2 separate regions of the Homo sapiens genome follow, and region 1 is linked to region 2. Evidence: promoter capture Hi-C in 16 types of primary human blood cells and fetal thymus (Javierre and others, 2016). All regions are on one chromosome and are shown on one strand. The core of a region is centred on a gene start or on the middle of the fragment in contact, and the rest is flanking DNA. Distances in the headings are between cores, read along the strand shown. Region 1 overlaps FYCO1 (FYVE and coiled-coil domain autophagy adaptor 1). Region 2 holds the start of CCR2 (C-C motif chemokine receptor 2).

The links. The method cuts DNA at HindIII sites, captures the fragments that hold promoters and counts their contacts. A CHiCAGO score of 5 or more calls a contact.
Region 1: a contact is called between a fragment that was not itself captured here and the fragment with the promoter of CCR2 in region 2, in 2 of 17 cell types (naive B cells and monocytes). The highest score is 5.5, in naive B cells.

What each region holds. Positions count from the first base shown.
Region 1 is chr3:45,969,646-45,973,526 of GRCh38, reverse strand. It overlaps FYCO1 (FYVE and coiled-coil domain autophagy adaptor 1), which reads left to right. Exons shown (of 18, transcript NM_024513.4): 6 at 296-439; 7 at 3,762-3,852. Among named protein-coding and RNA genes, the nearest start is that of FYCO1, 24 kb to the left of the region's middle. The HindIII fragment of the contact is 2,260 bases long and covers 127-2,386 here.
Region 2 is chr3:46,352,492-46,356,326 of GRCh38, reverse strand. It overlaps CCR2 (C-C motif chemokine receptor 2), which reads right to left and starts at 2,216. Exons shown (of 2, transcript NM_001123396.4): 1 at 2,150-2,216. The HindIII fragment of the contact is 10,451 bases long and covers 1-3,835 here.

The sequences.
Region 1 (3,881 bases), core at 7-2,506, 380 kb after region 2:
CCCTTTCTTGGCAAATAATTGATGTTTAAGGTTTCCCATATCCTTTTTGAGAAGTAGATATGATATATATAATAAATGAATAAGCATCCAGATCATTGCAGTAATTTCTTTGAAGAAGAGCAAGCTTATTTGAGAGTTATGTTCTTCTACCATGAAAATGAAATTGGTTTGTGTGCCTGTGTCTTTTAATTTAGTAACCTGAGTTGGAATTCGATGAGGCAGAGCCACAGTGGGAGGACTGAGTAAATTCATACTTTATCTTTATTACTCTTATAATTGACATGTTTTTCTGCAGTGACTGGTACTATGCAAGAAGCCCCTTTCTGCAGCCAAAGCTGAGCTCGGACATTGTGGGCCAACTCTATGAGCTGACTGAGGTTCAGTTTGACCTGGCGTCGAGGGGCTTTGACTTGGATGCTGCCTGGCCAACATTTGCCAGGTACTTTGAAGGATTGCTTGGTTTAAAAGACAGGAAAAGAGACATTTGAAGTTTTGAAGATTGCCACCAGTCTACTCAAAACAATTTTGCTTGCTCAGTAAATTACACAAACCTGTTCAACTCTTATTCCAGCTCCTTTTACAGACTTTGTTGAATCATGACTAACAATAACATCTGAAGGCTCCAACCTTAAACCAACTTAACTGGCCAGGGCATGAGTCAGTGGAGATGTGTATTGCAAAAGCCAAGGCTTTAAAATTTTTTTAAGGCACTTGTTGTTACGGGCATTGGGGGAGGAGTGGGCTTTTTCCCGTGCCTGTTCTTATGGAGTTATTACAGAAGGCTCCTAAGCAGTAGGAGAGGAAGTGAAAGCCACAGCTTGTCCACATAAGGGTTGCAGGAAAGGTTGCTGCATTTTTGTTTCTTCTTTTTTTCTTTTCTGAGGCCATCAAGCCAGCCATATCTTACACCAGTGTGGCACTCACATACCACCAGAGTCCTTACATGAGCTCCAAGAAGGAGGTGTGAGGAACAGGCTCAGAGGATCAGGGGACTTGACAAAGTCACCTAGCTGGTGGGCAGCAGGCCTGGGACACCTGACTTGGGTTAAAATCAAGTCCAGTGTTCTTTGTTTTGTTTTGCTTTCTGTTTATAAGGCTTTTAAAATTTAACATTCATATTTTTTATTAGGAAATACTTCATGTATAGAGAAAAGTGGTGACTATGATAGTCACATGCAAACCACTAGGATTTAATTTTGCCATATTCAGATGTCCTTTTTTTATTTTTATTTTTTGTAGGGACGGAGTCTTGCCATCTCTCCCAAGCTGGTTTGAACTCCTGGGCTCAAGCTATCCTCCTATCTTGGCCTTCCAAACTGCTGGGATTACAGGTGTGAGCCACCACGCCTGGCCCAGATACTCTTTTTAAAACTTTTACATTTTGAAATAATTTCAGAATTACAGAAAAGTTGCAAAAATAGTACAAAGTACTCATCTATCCTTCACCCTGATTCCCTAGTTATCGATATTTTACTATAATTGTTCATCATTTTTTCTATTTACATGTTGATTTATTTCCTAAGCCTTTTGAGAGTAAATTACAGACTTGATCCTCTTTTCTCTTAAGTACTTAATTGTGTATTTTCTAAAATCAAGGACATCCTGTTATATAACTCAGTACAGTTATTAAAATCAGAAAATTAGCATTGATACAATACTGCTATCTAATTTACAGATCTCATTTAAATTTTACAAATTATCTCAGTAATGTCTCTCATAATCTAAGGTCCAATCCCAGATCACATATTAATTGTTAATTCATTAATTGCTATGCCTCTCTAGTCCCCTTTAATTTTGAACAGTTTTTCAGTCTTTGTCTTTCATAACATTGACATTTTTGAAAAATACAGGCCAGTTATTTTGTAAAATGTTCCTTAATTTGAGTTTGTCTGATGTTTCCTCATTATTGGATTTAGGTTAAGTGTTTTTGGCAGGAATACCTTACCTGTTGTGTCCTTGTCAGCACACTGTATCTGGAGGCACACAGTGTTGATTTGTTTCATTACTAATGAGGTTAACCCTGGTCATTTGGGTAAGGCGGTGCTTGCCAAGTTTCTCCAAAAGTTACTATTTCTTCCTTTGTAATGAGTATATATCTTATGGGAAGACATGCTGAAATTACATTATTATCCTTTTTTCTCTTAAATCTGTCCTGTATTAGTTTTAATACCATTTGATCATTCTTGCCTGAAGCAGTTATTACCATAATAATTACCAGAGTGATTTTCTAACTCCATTATTTCTTTTACATTATTAGTTGGCATTCTACTGTAAGGAAGATCTTTTTCTTTTTCCCCATTTATTCATTCATAGCAGTATTGACTCATGGATTCTTATTTTATTCAATAGGTTGCATTCTGTCACTGTCATTATTTATTTTGAAGCTTACATTATCCCATTTATCCAATTACCCCAGTGGGGAGCCCCCTTCAAGCTGGCTCTTGTGGGGAGGTTTGGTTACATCTGATACTTTTTTAAGAAATAAAATATTATAGATCAGCTAAAGCCCCACCCCAATGCCATCCTTTCTCCTTTGTTCCCCTTTCAGAAGTAATCATGTAATCAATGCATTTCATTCTCAGATCTTATGCTTTCATTATTAATTGTGTATTTGTAAATATTTTATATATGTATATATATATAGTTTTATTTTGTAAATGTTTTAAAATTTTACACATGTTGAATCATGTAATAGCTATCCTTTGCAACCTGCTTTTTTCATTTTGCCTTGTTTTTGAGATTTTGTATCTGTTTATACATGGAGTTCTGTAAGTGTAGAGTTGGGTTGGCAAAGCACAGCCCAGAGGGCTGTGTGGAACACAGCTTTGCCCATTTACTCACCTGTTGTCCATGGCTGCTTTTATGCTAACAGTGCCAGTTGAGTGACAGAGACCATATAGCCCACAAGACCAAAATATTTACTATCTGGCCCTTTTCAAAAAAAAAGAATGCCAACCCATGGTGTAGAGAATTCTGTTGGGTGAATAAGCCACAGTGTATCTCTTTCCATAGCAGTGTAGAGTTTGTTTGGTTTCCCTTTTTCCAGTTACAGTGCTGCCAAGAGCATCCCCACTGTCTCCTTATGTACATATGTGACTGTCTTCAGGGAAGATACTGTGAAGGGCAGTTGCTGGGTTTTGGAGACTAGGTTTGAACACACAATAATTTTAGATTTAGGAGATGATTCTGATGAAGTAAAAATGTGTTTCGTTTCCAGTGTTCCTGCTAAACGAGAGTTATCACACAAGCCTTTGTATTTCTAAAGCAGTGCCATCCAATGGAACTTTCTGCATGAGGGAAATGTTCTGTATCTGCACTGACTGGCCTGGTTATGTGACCTAGAAGCAGGCCTCCCAGCCACACTGTTGCTGTGTCATACAGAGCGGGCAGCTGAGCCCCCAAGCACAGTGTGACTCTTATTTACCAAACTGACTGCTGCTTGTTCCTCACTGGCAGACAAACTGAGGCAGGCACCAAAAGCTCAAGGAAAATTTAAACCAAATAGTGGGAAATACATGTTCACTTAATTCTTTTTTGGCAGTGGGAGGAAAGCCATGATGGTAAAACTCTAGCCATGGAATTTATCTGTTACAGACCAGTGTAGCTGTGCTCTTTGGTGGAATCTGTTGGCTTTGACTTTCTTACATTCTACCTGGGAAGGCAGCCCCCTACCACCACCTGGTTGCCTAGTGACCAGCAAGGCCTCCATGTGTTAGGTTTCCTGCTCTGAATACAGGTATGTCTGTTTTGTGGCCCCACAGGAGGACGCTGACCACTGGCTCTTCTGCTTACCTGTGGAAACCCCCTAGCCGCAGCTCCAGCATGAGCAGCTTGGTGAGCAGCTACCTGCAGGTAAGGCCAGGAAGGCTGGGAATTATCTT
Region 2 (3,835 bases), core at 967-3,466:
CTCACCTCTTTAATTTTTTGCCTCTTTATCCTTGCTACAAAGTTCTTCCTGAATTGTATTGTCTAAACTCATGGTTCCTACTCCCTTCTATGCTACTGTTTTCTAAAGCTCTGTCTTCAAGCTCCAGCTTTCCCCTAAGCCTTAGAGTTGAATTTCCCATTGCCTGATGCATATCTCCCCATGCATGTATTCACTGCATCAACACTTATTGAACACCTACTATGAACCATACTCAGTTTTAGGCACTGAAGTGAGCAAAGTGGGTATCATGCAGGGACCTCAAATTCAACCCACCCCAAATGGGGCACTGCTGAAAACTCCTTCCGATTGTGGATTCCTCCATTGCCTAAGAAGCAAAATTGGGCATTGCCCTGGGTTGCTTCTCCTTCTGAAAATTAGGAGCCAGTTTTTGGAGCCAAACAAACCTGGATTTGAATCCTTATAGGCAGTGTAATCTGGGGCCAATTACTCCTTCAAGTGCCGATTTCTTTATGCATAAAATATTAACTATGCTGAGTTGCTGTGAAGATCAATGGAGTAAGGACTTAGGACAGCATCTGACACAGAGAAATGCCCTGTATTATTATCATGTCATTTGAGTTCCACCTCATAGATGCCTCTCAGATTCATCCCCTCTGCACTGCTTTCAACTGTCACTTTCTTGCTTCACACACTCCTCACTCCTGGCTTTGTTGTAGTCTTTCCTTTGCTCATGGCTCATCTCAAGCCATGTTCCCTCTCAACCTATCTTCTCTTAAGTTGAAATTGAATAGTCACTCTTAGCTTAAAACCTCCAGTAGCCCTATGACTTATATGTGGTGGGCTTCAAAGATAATGTCCAGACTGCCCAGCACAACATCTTTTCTGAGTTTGCCTCTTTTCAGCCTCACCTCCAGTCCCTTCTCCAATCCCAAATCCTGTGCTTCAGTCACAGCCATCTTCTCTTCATTTTCCCTAAACTCACCATTTCCTTCATGCTTCAGTGGTTTTGCAGGTCCTTGCCCCTCTGCCCAAAATGATTGGTGAGCTTCTATTCACCCTTCAATACCTCCTGCTCAAATCCCCCTTCTCTGTGAAGCCTAATCTGTATCCTCTGTCATATTACTCTTATCACATAACACTGCATGCATCTAGATAAGCACTTATTATGTTATCTGCTACACACAGCATGTTCCTCAAGATCAAGGACTGGATTATGCTTCTATTTTCAGCTCTTATGATAGTACCTGGCTAAAGGAGGCACCAATAAATGTTCACTGAATGAGTACATAAAACTCTTTATAATAAGAACTATAAGCCCTAACATCATCAGGACTTGATTCTCAAGAATTTTTTTTCTGGCAGTGACTGTGAATTTCTTTTCCACCCACCTGTATACTTTATCCTTCCATTTCTCTTGCAATTGACACTTTTCACAAGTCTTGTATTTCATATCACTGAGCCAGATTCTTGAAATCTGGAGAAGCTAAATAAGACCTCTGATCAAAGTTGGAAAAAAATGCATCTGCCTAAAGAATCACAACTGTGGTCATTAATTGAGTGCTCCTGAAGCTCAGATGCTATGTTAAATGCTGTGCACACATTACTTAATTTCATTTTTACAACTGGCTAGCATGTAGCTTCTACTACAGTGAACAATGAGCAAGATGCCTGAAATGTGCTGTCCTAGGTGTCATTTCAAGTGTCAGAACATGTCACCCAGAACTGATAGAAATCTATCTTTCAGAAAATAAATTCCTTACTTCTGCCTCTGTGGATCTCCTGAGTTGAGGCAAGGGACACATTTTGGTTCAGAGCTTGGATGGTCCTATATTTAGACTAACAGTTCCAGCTCTTTAACGTCCTTGGGTGCTCAGAGGGGCAGAGTGAGCCCCTGGGTGTGTGGACTGGTGACTGAGCAGAGTGGCTGTCCTGGCCTCGCTTGCTGCCCACTCTCCCCCATCACCTGCTGCACGCTGCTCTTCCTCAGGGTTTCTCTAACATCTCCTGGTGCACATGCCATCCCCACCCCTGCCTCTCATCTTGATCATTCCCCCCAAGTGTGCAGGCTTTGCAGTTCCCCAGGGTGTACCCAGACCCGGCATTTCCAGCTTTGAGGTGCGTTGAGCCTATGAATCAGAAAGTAATGGAAAAAATGCCTACAACTCACCAGCTTGTGGCTTGTCTCAGGCAGTCCTGGTATGTCAGGCTTCTCAGCAACTGAACCAAACAGATCTAGAGGTAGAAACTTGGCATGCAGAAGTAGGAAATAAAGTTTCCTGCAGAAAGTGAAGGCGGAGATACAGGGCAACTAATGGTAAAGATTTGAAAAAAAAAATCAGAAAAATATAGTTCTTCTTTTCCAGTCAGGAACATTGTACATTGGGTTGAGGTCTCCAGAATAGGATTAATTTTGAAATCTTGCTTATGCAACCTTGAGTGTGAGTCAGGCAAACCCTGTACATCTGCTCCTGTTTCTAACGACTCTGAGCTTCTTTATCTTGTGGGTCTTTATACCTGGAACATTTCCACTCTCTGCTCTCCTACTAGTGATAATTTGCATGATATGAGCACAACAGAATGTTTCATGTTCCAGAGAATAAAGGGTATTGGTGATAGTGGAGGAAGTATAATGAGGTTTTACTGCGATCATGTGTGCTGGTTTCAGTGGTATCATGGATTCAGAATCTGGTTAGAAATTTCATTTAGATAAGACTTTAAAATTTTTTTTTATTTAATTCACATAATAATTGTATATATTTATGGGACACAATGTGATGTTTTGCTACATGTATACATTGTGCAATGATCAAATCAGGGTAATTACATATCCATCCTCTGAAACATTTATCATTTCTTTTGAAATAATAATGATATTGAAAACCCTCTCTTCTAGCTATTTATATATACAGAATTCATTATTAACTACCGTCACCCTACTTGGAGCAGAGCACCAGCACTTGTTTCTCCTATCTCATGGTAACTTTGTACCCGTTGATCAACTGCTGCCCATTCTCACCTCCTCTCTTTCCTCCCCAGTCTCTGGTAACCACTGCTCTACTGTCTTTTTCTAAGATAGCAACTTTTTTTTTTTTTTTAAATTGGGTTTCATTCTGTCACCCAGACCGGAGTGCACTGGCACAGTCTCAGCTCACTGCTACCTCCACCTTCTGAGTTCAAGCCATCCTCCCACCTCAGCCTCCTGAGTAGCTAGGATTACAGGTGTGTGCCATCATGCCCGGCTAAGCAACTTATTTAAAAAAAAATTCCACATAAGAGTGAGATCACGTGGTATTTGTCTATCTGTGTGTGGCTTATTTCACTTAACATCCTCTAGGTTCATCCACATTATCACAAATTACAGGATTTCAAACTTTTTAATGAAAAGGAAATGCTAAATTATCTCTTGTGTCAGGAACGTCCTTAGCAAGAAGAACCTCAGTTATTTTAAATGCCCCTCCTTGGAAAGACGTTTTGTTAAAAGATAATGTAAATTTTGCAATGGGGACATCAGACTAGGAGCATTCCTAAGATTGTGCAGAGAACATGGTGTCATCTAAGTTGGCCCCTGGCACTTTCTGGAATCCAGCAGACACCGGAGGCAGGATCTCATGCTGTGGACTTGGCAAGTTTCTAAGTTTCCATTTCCCAAATATGAAATATGAATAACAAGACTGGGGGTCTATGAGGGTAAATGGACCTAAAGCAGCTAGAGCAGGGTCTGGCAGGCACTCCACAGGTAACAAACAGAACAGAACAGTCTGAGCCCTGCAGAGTGCCAGAGGTTGAAGGATGCATCCACTGCTAGAGCCAACAACAATCAAATGCTCAGGGCAGTCCAGGTGTCCTTTCCAGA